Linked DNA regions of Homo sapiens: region 2 is linked to region 1. Evidence: promoter capture Hi-C in 16 types of primary human blood cells and fetal thymus (Javierre and others, 2016). All regions are on one chromosome and are shown on one strand. The core of a region is centred on a gene start or on the middle of the fragment in contact, and the rest is flanking DNA. Distances in the headings are between cores, read along the strand shown.

Region 1 (6,164 bases), core at 125-2,624:
CTGGCTCTGTCACCCAGGCTGGAGTGCAGTGGCACTATCTCGGCTCACTGCAACCTCCGCCTCCCAGATTCAAGCAATTTTCCTGCCTCAGCCTCCTGAGTAGCAGGGATTACAGGCGCCCACCACCACGCCTAGCTAATTTTTGTGTTTTTAGTTGGGGGGGGGGGCGGGGGCGTTCACCATGTAGGCCAGGCTGGTCTCGAACTCCTGACCTCGTGATCCGCCCGCCTCGGCCTCCCAAAGTGCTGGACTTATAGGCGTGAGCCACCGCGCCCAGCCTATGATAGAAATCTTATTAGCTCCATGGTTACAAACAGACAACCCTGAGGCCTGGAGGAAAGTAACTTCAGAACAGATACTCTCCTGGCTGAACTTTATATTTATTGCACTCTTGGCAGTCGTCCCTAGTTGTCTTTTTCTTTGATCTCTCTCTAGTTAAGACTTGCTCCTGGAGGCAAAGCGTGGTGGTGTCTGGCTCAGCATAGCACCTGCCATAATTACAAATGGCAATTATGGAATGAATCAGCTGTTTAAAGCACCAAATCTTGAGCTGGCCCGAAGACTGCGCAGGAGGATTGCATGCTCAACTCTCCCCTTTAGAAACTGTTAACAATCGTTGTGGCCGGGCGCGGTGGCTCACGCCTGTAATCCCAGCACTTTGGGAGGCCGAGGCGGGTGGATCATGAGGTCAGGAGATCGAGACCATCCTGGCTAACAAGGTGAAACCCCGTCTCTACTAAAAATACAAAAAAAATTAGCCGGGCGCGGTGGCGGGCGCCTGTAGTCCCAGCTACTCGGGAGGCTGAGGCAGGAGAATGGCGTGAACCCGGGAAGCGGAGCTTGCAGTGAGCCGAGATTGCGCCACTGCAGTCCGCAGTCCCGCCTGGGCGACAGAGCGAGACTCCGTCTCAAAAAAAAAAAAAAAAAACAATCGTTGTAACTGGAAATGTAACTGTTATACCCTCCCCCCCTTTTATTTATTTATTTTTTTGAGAGGGAGTTTTTGCGCTGTTGCCCAAGCTGGAGTGTGGTGGCGCCCAGCCCTGTTAGCCCCTTACAGAGTAGATCAGCTGCCGCAGGCATCTGAGTTCCCCAAACGGACGCCCGAACCCGGCATTGCGCAAATCGTTTCCAAGTAGCCCCGGCTTATTTATCCCGTCCGGGAGGGAGGGACCCAGGGAAGGCCCACCCCACTTGGTTCCCGAGAAATGCAGAGCCTGGCGTCCACTCCCGGTCTGGGGGACCCCTCCACCGCCAGCCCAGGAAGTCAGCGCCGGGCCCTCGGGGCGGAGCAGGGAAGAGGGAGCGGTTGGCCCGGACGCTCTTCCGGGTCCTGGGAGGAGGGCCCGGACCTAAGCCCCGCCCCTCCGGGGTGGAGTCACGGCTCGCGACTGGCCTAAGTCGCCGCAGGTATTGCAGTCCGGGGCTGGAGGGTAGGGGCGAGGGTCCCCGGATACCGGGTCTATCACGGTCTCGGGCAGGGAGTCTGAATCTTTTAGGGGAGTGGGCCCAAGCCGGGTGCAAAGAACGGGGAAGGGCCTTCCCTGGCTCCGTCCCGGCCACTTTGACCGAATCAGCCTGTTCTTTCCCGACCCCGTCTCCTATCCCCTAGAACTGCCACGTGGGGATGAGATTTGCTGGGCTGGTAGCGGCGGCTGCTGCGGGAGGTCCCGCCCACGTGAAGCCAGCCTAACTGAGCTCTGGACTTTGGGGACAGCTGTCAGTGGCCTAGGCCGCAGGTGAGATTTATCCATTCATCTCTCAATCTATTTTCTTTCTTCATTCACTAGCCACTCCCCCACTTCTACTCCATGCCAGGTCCATTGGTAGGTTCTCGGAATGGATCTGACAGGCCCAGCCCTCTAGGAACTTAGTCTAGTGGAATTTAATCTAGAATCTAGTCTAGAAGCCTTAAATAGATAAACATTCCAAATGATTCCTGCAATGGTGATGGCTAATACCTTCAGAGCCCAGTGGGTGGAAGAAGGAAGTAACTTGGATGTGGGTGGAAGAGAAAAGGGCAAATCAGGGAAGGTTTCACCAGGGAAGGGACTTTTGAACTGGGCTTTGAAGGTTAACTAGGAGTTTGCAAATTTCCCAGAAGGGAAGCGACATTCCAAATAGGGGAAGCAGAACAGGCTGCAAAATTATGAAAAGGCCTGCCATATTACAAGAACAGCAAAAAAACCAATAATGCAAGAGATTGTGGAGGTGAGTTCACGGGAAAAAAGCTCAACAGCAGAAGGCCTTACTTTCTATGCTATGTTGAGGCCAAGATTTATCCCAGAGCTCAGTATTTCTCAGCTTCTTTAAATATTTTGTCCTTTGAGCGGAGAGCAGTGGCTCACACCTGTAATCCCAGCTTTTTAGGAGGCTGAGGTGGAAGAATTGCCTGAGGCTAGGAGTTCGAGACCAGCCTGGACAACAAAGCGAAACCTCCATTTCTATTTTTTTTTCTTTTTTTGAGGAGGAGTCTTGCTCTGTCGCCAGGCTGGAGTGCAAGTGGCGCAATTTCGGCTCACTGCAACCTCCGCCTCTTGGGTTCAAGCAATTCTCACGCCTCAGCCTCCTGAGTAGCTGGGACTACAGGCGTGGGCCACAACGCCCAGCTAATTTTTTTTGTATTTTTAGTAAAGACAGGGTTTCACCATGTTGGCCAGGATGGTATCGATCTGACCTCATGATCCGCCTGCCTCGGCCTCCCAAAGTGCTGGGATTACAGGCGTGAGCCACTGCTCCCAGCCCCGTTTCTATTTTTAATTAAAAAATAAATAAATGGCCGGGCTCAGTGGCTCACGCCTGTAATCCCAGCACTTTGGGAGGCCGAGGCGAGCCAAGTTCAAGACCAGCCTGGCGAACATAGTGAAACCCCATCCCTACGAAAAATACAAAAAAAATTAGCCAGGTGTGGTGGCACTTGCCTGTAGTCCCAGCTTACTCTGGAGGCTGAGGCAGGAGAATAGCTTGAACCCGGGAGGCAGAGGTTGCAGTGAGCTGAGATCCTGCCACTGCACTCCAGCCTGGGTGACAGAGTGAGACTCCATCTCAGAAAAAATAAAAATAAAAAATAAAGCCAGGCACGGTGGCTCATGCCTGTAATCCCAGCACTTTGGGAGGCTGAGGCGGGCAAATCACCTGAGGTCAGGAGTTAGTGACCAGCCTGGCCAGTGTGGTAAAACCCCGTCTCTACTAGAAAAGCTAGAAAAATGAGCTGGGCGTGGGTGGGCACCTGTAATCTCAGCTACTCAGGAGGCTGAGAAAGGAGAATCATTTAAACCTGGGAGGGGAAGGTTGCAGTGAGTGGAGATTGCACCACTGCACTCCAACCTGTGCAACAGAGTGAGACTCTATCTAAAAATAATAATAAAGATAAATACATAGGCCAGGCACGGTGGCTCACACCTGTAATCCCAGCACTTTGGGAGGCTGAGGCGGGTGGATCAGCTGAGGTCAGGAGTTCGAGACCAGCCTGACCAACATGGTGAAACTCCATCTCTACTAAAAATAGAAAAATTAGCTGGGCGTAGTGGCACATGCCTGTAATCCAAGCTACTCGGGAGGCTGAGGGAGGAGAATCGTTTGAACCTGGGAGGCAGAGGTTGCCATGAGCTGAGATCTTGCCATTGCACTCCAGCCTGGGCAACGAGAGCTAAACTCCATCTCAAATAAATAAATAAATAAATAAATAATAAAAATAAAGATGAAAAGTTGGTGATTCTTATTCAAATCAATCAGGCCTAGAAATTAGTACATTCAACAGGAAAGGTTTAAAAAGGAGGTTGAATTGATTAAGATGATAATCATAAGTGTCTAAAAAGTGCCTTTCTTTCTTATGCATAGGACACCATGAAGCAACTGCCAGTCTTGGAACCTGGAGACAAGCCCAGGAAAGCAACATGGTCTGTAAGGAAGGATCCAGACACAGAAAAGCATGAGTTTTTGTTTCATTTATAAGTAGTTTATTTACATATTTGATCATCAACAAAAAGGGGTAGAGATGAAACTGTCTGCAGTTTCTGGTAATTAGACTCAAACTGTCTGAGAAAGTCTTCAGAGGAAAGATAGGGGGGCAGTAATTATCACAGAGCAGATGTTAATTTTATTAAAATCCATTTACCAGAAAGAGTAAGGCACTGACCATCTGGCATCCTCAGCTCCAATGCTGTGTCTTCCCCCGAGCTCTGACTCATTTTTAAGATTTTTAGGAAATTAGATTTGGATTAAACTGGCTTCACTGTTTCTTGGCTGTTTGTTCAAACAACCCTTTATTCAACAACTAACATTGGCCTGATGGGGGCAGCTGCTCTGTGGGTGCTGGAGGTAGAATTGTAAATAGTCTCTGTGTACTGGGGACTACAGACTAAGCAGGTGATGGTGATAAAATGTGATCTGCTCTGAGTCAGGGCCCACAGAAGGTTGTAGAGAGGTGGCAGTTCTTCAACAGGACCTTGAAGGAGAGACTCCAGACTGGCTTCCATGCATCTGTCTTGCTCTGTACCCAGAATACAGCCAATCATGGCATTTCCTAGTTTAAAACCCTTTTGTGCCTCCCTGTTGGTGTTGGGATAAAAATCAGACTCCTGGGCTGGGCACGGTGGCTCATGCCTGTAATCCCAGCACTTTGGGAGGCCAAGGCGGGTGGATCTCCTGAGGTCAGGAGTTTGAGACCAGCCTGACCAATATGGTGAAACCCCATCTCTACTAAAAATACAAAAATTAGCTGGCATGGTGTTGTGCAACTGTAGTCCCAGCTACTAGGGAGGCTAAGACAGGAGAATTGCTTGAATCTGGGAGGCAGAGGTTGCAGTGAGCTGAGATCATGCCACTGTACTCCAGCATGGGCCACAGAGCAAGAATCCGTTTCAAAAAAAAAAAAAAAAAAAAAGGCCGGGCACGGTGGCTCATGCCTGTAATCCCAGCACTTTGGGAGGCCGAGGTGGGCGGATCACGAGGTCAGGAGATCGAGACCACTCTGGCTAACATGGTGAAACCCTGTCTCTACTAAAAATACAAAAAATTAGCCGGGCGTGGTGGCGGGCATCTGTAGTCCCAGCTACTCTGGAGGCTGAGGCACTCCAGCCTGGGCGACAGAGCGAGACTCCATCTCAAAAAAAAAGAAAAATCAGACTCCTGACCGGGCGCAATAGCTCATGCCTATAATCCTAGCACTTTGGGAGGCTGAGGTGGGTGGATCACTTGAAGCCAGGAGTTTGAGACCAGTCTGGCCAACATGGCAAAACCCCGTCTCTACTAAAAATACAAAAATTAACCGGGAGTGGTGGTGCATGCCTGTAATCCTGGCCACTCGGGAGGCTGAGGCAGGACAATTCTTGAACCTGGGAGGTGGAGGTTGCAGCAAGCCGAGATGGTGCCACTGCACTCCAGCCTGGGCGCAACAGAGGGAGACTCCGTCTCAAACAAACAAACAAACAAATTAGACTTCTTAAACTGGCCCAATGGTCCCTGCAAAATGTTTCTGCCTGTATTTCCAACCTCAAATCCCATGACTTGTTCCTTTGTTCTCTTTCTCTTCTTTATTGTGCCCTTTGCACTGTTCCACTCAGGAGCTGTTCATGCTGGTCTCTTTGCCTGGACTGCTCTTTCTGCCTGGAGTGCTCTTTCCCTCCACTTTTTGTCCCTCTCTTTTCCCAGCTTATTTTATTTTATTTTTGAGACAAGTTCTTCCTCTGTGGCTGGCCACCCAGGCTGGAATGCGGTGGTACAATTGTGGCTCATTATAGCCTCGACCTCCTGGCCTCAAGTAACCTTCCCATCTCCATCTCCCAAGTAACTGGGACTGTTGGTGTGTACTACCATGCCCAGCTAATTTTTTTTTTTAGAGACCCAGTCTCGCTATGTTGCCCAGGCTGGTCTCAAACTCCTGGGCTCAGGCGATCCTCCCACTCTAGCCTCCCAAAGTGCTGAGATTACAGGTGTGAGCCACCACACCTGGCCTACCCAGCTAATTTCTACTCATACTTCAGATCTCTCTCCAAATGGTGCTTCTTCAGGAAGCCTTCTCTGACCACCCTATCTCCCTGGCTCCTTACAGGGTGAGACCCTCCTAAGACATGCATGTCCTCATACTATATATTCTGTACTCCTTTCTACCACAATTGAAGTGAAACAGATAGTTGTGAAACTGTTGAATGTTTCTTTTCCCA
Region 2 (6,084 bases), core at 2,984-5,483, 170 kb after region 1:
AGATCATCTTTGGGGATGGGGCCCAGGATTTGGTGCTCTAGGGAGTTATACTATATAAACTGTTTCCCAAACTTCCCTGTTGAGAATCACCTGGTATTCTTGTTGGTATATAAGAGTCCATAGGGGAGGGAACCAGGAATCTTTGAACAAGTCCTCCCAGTGACTTTTATTTTCCAGAGAGTTTTTGTTTTTGAGACAGGGTGTCACCCTGTCACCCAGGCTGGAGTGCAGTGGCATGATCCTAGCTCACTGTGGTCTCAAACTCCTGGGCTCAAGTGATCTTCCTGCCTCAGCCTCCTGAGTAGCTGGGACCACAGGTGCATGCCACAACACCTGGCTAATTTCAAAAAAGTTTTTCAGAGATGGGGTCTTGCTTGCTATGTTGCCCTCTCTGGTCTTGAACTCCCAGGCTCAAGCGATCCTCCTGTCTCAGCTTCCCAAAGTACTGGGATTACAGGTGTGAACTGCCATGCCCAGCCTCTCCAAGAGAGTTTGAGAAGCACCAGGAGAGCTTGCACTTGATGAAGAATGAACCAGTGGCCCGCCTACCCTCATCGCCCACCTGGGGAGGTTCATAAAACCACAGACTCATGATCCCACCCCATACCCATTGAATCAATTTCTGGGGAAGATGCCAGGAATCTGCATTTCTAGCAAGCTCCCCATCTCACTGAAACTCATGAAAATGTATGATCCACTGTGAAAGTGGTTAACTCCTAAACACTTGGCTTCATAGCTCACAAGGGTAATAAGCATGAATGGGGAAGCCCCTTTAAAAGAATGAGAATTGTTAGCCTACAGCCAATCCAATGATTCCTTTAAGGATAGCTCTTTTTATATGCTTAGAATGAAGCATTTTCTTTACTCATAACTGCCTGTTATGTAACGCTGTTTCCTTAGCCTCAAATTGCTAAACATTTCCAGAGAATCATGGTGTTCAATGACATACCCAAATTTATGTATGAAAAATTCTTAGAGTCTAATCTTTCTGTGTTTAAGCTTTTAAAATGTTTTTTTGTTTGTTTGTTTGTTTTGTTTTTGGGTTTTTTGTTTGAGATGGAGTCTCACTCTGTCACCCAGGCTGGAGTGCAGTGGTGCGATTTCGGCTCACTGCACGCTCTGCCTCCTGGGTTCAAGTGATTCTCCCACCTCAGCCTCCCGAGTAGCTGGGATTACAGGCATGTGCTACCATGCCTGGCTAATTTTTGTATTTTTAGTAGAGACTGGGGTTTCACCATGTTGGCCAAGCTGGTCTCAAACTCCTGACCTCAAGTCATCTCCTGCCTTGGCCTCCCAAAGTGCTGGGATTACAGGCGTGAGCCACCGCGCCCAGCCAGTTGTTTCATTTTGATTGTTTTGTGACCATTCATAACTGGTGTCCCATGTAAAATAACTGCATTGGTTCCCACAGCCCTTGACCTCTGACTTCACTTTTGTTTCCCCAGTGCTGCCTCTGCTGAAAGTAAAAGAATTTCTCCTCTTCTACTTCTCCTCCCACATTTGATGTGTGGACTTCCATGCCTGGGTTCCCTCCCCTAGGTCCCTTTACATTTTGATCACTGGCGACCCTATTTTCCTTTTCGTGTGGCTGTGGCGGTGACAGCAGAGGCTGCATCTGCTGCTGCTGCTTTGGGGCAGCATGCTGTGAGGAGAAGAGTGCAATGGAAGGGGACAGATGACAGGAAGTGCTCAGGGCCATCCGATTGTCGCAGCGTCCTCAGGGATGCCCCTGCCACAAGCCCCTCCACAGCTAAGTGGGCCATACCAATGAGCCTGAACTAGTCCTTTCCCTCCCTGGGCCACTCCCGCCATTACTGAAAAGCCACAGGTTCCCAGCGGTGTTTGGTTATGTTGCTAGGCTCAGGAACTGGAAGATGGATCTAATCTGAGCTCTGTCTCTAACCAGACCTAAGGCAAGTGGCAACTCCTTTGAAGGCGTTTCCTGATTTGGGCTTTATTACCTCACGGATCCCCTGCAGTTTTACCATCTACATAAAATCTTGAACTATTTCTCCTGTACTGGCCTTTAATGGAGGGGGTGGTTAAAGTGCAGGGACACAGTGGAGGCTGCCAGGAGCACGGGGGTGTCCGGAACCCTTGATCAGGAAGGCTGCCCACTGAGCTGACTCAAGAGGGGACTTGATAGTCTTGCCACTGAACACAAGTTCAGGCCCCAAGCTGCTTTTTGTTTTTTGAGACGGAGTTTCGCTCTGTTGCCCAGGCTGGAGTGCTATGGCGCGATTTTGGCTCACTGCAACCTCCACTTCCCAGGTTCAAGCAATTCTCCTGCCTCAGACTCCCAAGTAGCTGGGATTACAGGCACATGCCACCATGCCCGTCTAATTTTTGTATTTTTAGTAGAGATGGGGGTTTCACCATGTTGGCCAGGCTGGTCTCGAACTCCTGACCTCAGGTGATCTGCCCGCCTTGGCCTCCCAAAGTGCTAGGATTACAGGCATGAGCCATTGTGCCTGGCCCAAGCTTCTTTTTAACCTGGTATATTGTGGGTGAGGAGACAGGCCAGGGAATCCTGGAAAGGTGCCTCCTCTGACACCGGTCAGCAGGGCAGTTGCCAGGGAGGGCCTGCGCTGGACTTGCCAGGAGCACAAGGACCACCTGTGCACAGGGCAGACACTCAGAGCCCTTTTTGGTGGTTGTTACTATTTATCTTTTTTTTTTTTTTTTTTAGACAGGGTCTTGCTCTATCACCCAGGCTGGAGTGCAGTGGTAAGATCATGGCTCACTGCAGCCTCGACCTCCCAGGCTCAAGTGATCCTCCCACCCCAGCCTCCTGAGTAGCTGGGACTACAGGTGCATGCCGCCACGCCTGGCTAATTTTTTTGTATTTTTTATAGGTGGGGTCTCGCTATATTGCCTAAGCTGGTCTTCAACTCCTGGGCTTAAGCTATCCTCCTGCCTCAGCCTCCAAAAGTGCTGAGATTACCGGTGTGAGCTACCGCGCCTGGACATTATTAATCTTTTATTGTTATAATAGCTTAATGGGAGAAGAAAAGATTGTGGTCTATGCATGTATGAAAATTAAGAAGATCATGTTGTAGATTGATTTGCAGGATTTTTTAAAGGCGCCCTGCCTTTTTTCCTCAGCGGGGTTCTTGAGCATCCATCGGTGATCGGTGGTCGCTTCTCGCAAATCTTCTGTTTCATTTATTTTGGTTGCTAAGTAGGGAGATCCACCTTTATCTGGGTGATTCAAAATCACGATTCTCCTGTGAGCTGCTCTAATCTTAGCCTTGCCAGCAGGTGAACTTACACCTAAAATAACACTAGCTTTTCTCCTACTCATTTTCTGTTCAAATCCTCCTTTGTAATAGGATGACAGGCTAGGAGTTCAAAGGTTCTCTACTGCTTCTGTGATCCTTGTTCTAGAGGTTTCCAGGACTGCGACGCACAGCGACCTGCAAAGGCAAGAGCAGCAGCACCCAGCCCTGCAGCTGTCACAGTTCTTGCCAGTCCCTGCTGGTTGGTATCTGCGTCTGACTGAGGCATTTGGCCAAGGGCGGCAAGTACTCAGTGGGGTGCAGCCCCTTGATGGCAGGGGTGATGCCACCATGGACAGCCAAGAGAACCCATTTTTTTATTTTATTCTAGATTCAGGAGGTACCTGTGCTTGTTTGTTACATGGGTATTACATGCATAATGATGGGGTTGGGTTCCTAGCCTACCCATCACCCAAATATTGGACACTGTACCCAGGAGGCAGTTTATCAACTAACAGGCTGGGTTGTGAGCTCAAGTCCCTTTCCACTGTGGTCATAAACAGTAACCACAGTGGAGTGATTCCTGACACATGATGCCTTTCTGGGTCCAGATACTTTCATCCCTATGTGCCCCACCCTACACGCCTCTTTGTCACTCATGCCTGCCGCTGCCCAGCCTTCTTCCCTGGCCCAGGCTCTGGATTGCCCAAACCTCCTGAGGGGCCCTTGGCAAATGTCTCTTTTGTGTTGTGCGTGTGTGTGTGGCAGGGTCTCACTTTGTCGCCCAGGCTGGAGTGCAGTGGCACAATCTCGGCTCACTGCAACCTCTGCCTCTTGGGTTCAAGCGATTCTCCTGCCTCAGCCTCCTGAGAAGCTGGGACTACAGGTACACGCCACCATGCCTGGCTAATTTTTGTGCTTTTGGTAGAGACAGTGTTTCACCATGTTGGCCAGGCTGGTCTCGAACTCCTGACCTCAAGTGATCTACCCGCCTTGGCTTCCCAAAGTGCTGGGATTACAGGTGTGAGCCACCGCGCCTGGCTGGGAAATGTCTCTTAAACCTGTCCCCCGCTGCCACAGCCAGTTTTTCCACCTCCACAATCACGACTGACTCCTAGTCTCCCTGCCTCCCTCTCACCCCTTCTCCTAGGTGCCCTTAGAATTCATCAAGTCTGGCCAGGCACGGTAGCTCACACCTGTAATCCCAGAAATTTGGGAAGCCGAGGTGGGTGGATCACCTGAGGTCAGGAATTCGAGACCAGCCTGACCAACATGGAGAAACCCCGTATCTACTAAAAATACAAAATTAGCTGGGCGTGTTGGTGAATGCCTATAATCCCAGCTACTCGAGAGGCTGAGGCAGGAGAATCACTTGAACCCGGGAGGCGTAGGTTGCAGTGAGCCAAGATCACGCCATTGCACTCCAGCCCGGGCAACAAGAGCAAAACTCCACCTCAAAAACAAACAAACAAAAAAATTCATCAAGTCTGAGCAGATTCCTCTTCTGCCTAAAATCTTCTCTTTTCTACCTGGGTTCTGTCCTGCCTTTTCAGCCACATGCCTCTGGTCCTTCTCCTTCCCCTCCAGCCAGCCCCACTCCAGCCACTGAGAACTATCACCTTTCCCAAAGTGCTGCCCTTTGCCGGCCTCTAAGCCTTTGCTGATGCCCAGATCTGACTGCCTCCCCCACAGTCCTTCCTCCTGCCTCAGATGGCCCTTCTGGAGGAAAACCCCAGGTGCCCCCTCCTGCCTCCCTCCTCAGTGAGGCCTCACCCCCATCCCTCCCTCTCCAGAGCAGTGTCTCCCTGGAGCCTGTGCTCCTAGGGGAGGGCATGCCTCCAAATGGCAGGTGTCCCTAATGTTTGCAGATGGGGATGGATGAGAGGCAGAAAGTAGCCCTTCAGGGCGGGGATTCCACCATCTTTTCCTTCCAAATTCAGGCCCTGCTGGGACAGGAACTATCCCTGTCGTGGTCCAGGGCCAGGTAGTTCTTCACGTCCTCTGGGAAGACAGAGTGCCCCAAAGCCCTTGATCTCCAGTGGGTAGAATTAGGTGGGGCAGAGGCTGTGCCACACCAGGTCACACCTCTCCTGTGTCTGCTCCCACCCCACCAAGCACAGGGCCGGGATGAGGATGCCTGGAGCCCAGCTCAGTGCCTGCCTGGGTTGCAGCCCTGATCACACCAAAGTGTCTTGTCTGTTTGCAGCCCTTTATCTGGCTAGCAGGGTTTAATTTTACTCTGGGAAGGTGGGATTTTTGTCCCTATTTACTTATTATTTTCGAATTTATTATCTTTAGGTGGCATCTACAAATCGGCGTCCTCTGAGGGCAACAGCGCCCCGTTCTGCTAGAAATCCCGAGATTTGCAGCCACTGCAGCACGCTGCCTCTGCGGCTTCTCCGCACCATCCCCGACCCCTTCCCCCGCGAGTCTGCCGTCGGCCAGTTTCCTCCCAGGCCCCGGCTTTGCTGTTCCTTGGGTGACATCTTGTGGCCAAGGACAGGTACAAACCATTGGCTGAAAAGGAGGAGCAAAGGCAGCCCTCAGCCCTCTCTGGAGGAGCCTTGGGGCGCCTTCGAGGATGCCCAGGAGGGCAGGGGGCTCCTGAACAGGGAATCGGCTCTCAGACCCCGAATGGGCTTGCACCAAGCCCTTCATGAGACAGCTGTGGCTGGAGCCCAGAATTCACCCAGGCCCCCCGAGGCAGACACACCAGGTTCCTCTCTGCCCACCCTGCGTTGTGGCAAATAATCATTATTCCCGATATAAAGCTTTTCTCTAGCAGCCCAACGACAAGGTTATTATTCCAATCTTACAGATGCAGCAACAGCCCTGAGCCACAGCCAGTGACCTGAGCCCAGCCCAC

Evidence for each region. Contacts are between HindIII fragments. The CHiCAGO score rates a contact against its expected background, and 5 or more counts as called.
Region 2: a fragment that was not itself captured here is called in contact with the fragment with the promoter of RABEPK in region 1 in 1 of 17 cell types (M1 macrophages); the score reaches 5.1 in M1 macrophages.

Annotation. Positions count from the first base shown.
Region 1 is chr9:125,199,168-125,205,331 of GRCh38, forward strand. It overlaps RABEPK (Rab9 effector protein with kelch motifs), which reads left to right and starts at 1,375. Exons shown (of 8, transcript NM_005833.4): 1 at 1,375-1,739; 2 at 3,841-3,899. The coding sequence starts at 3,847. LOC105376271 (a long non-coding RNA gene) reads right to left here and starts at 1,229. Exons shown (of 2, transcript NR_135145.1): 1 at 1,059-1,229; 2 at 366-488. RefSeq lists a silencer at 1,253-1,302. The HindIII fragment of the contact is 9,581 bases long and covers 1-6,164 here.
Region 2 is chr9:125,369,198-125,375,281 of GRCh38, forward strand. No RefSeq gene overlaps it. Among named protein-coding and RNA genes, the nearest start is that of GAPVD1, 110 kb to the left of the region's middle. RefSeq lists an enhancer at 1,881-2,381. The HindIII fragment of the contact is 3,508 bases long and covers 2,480-5,987 here.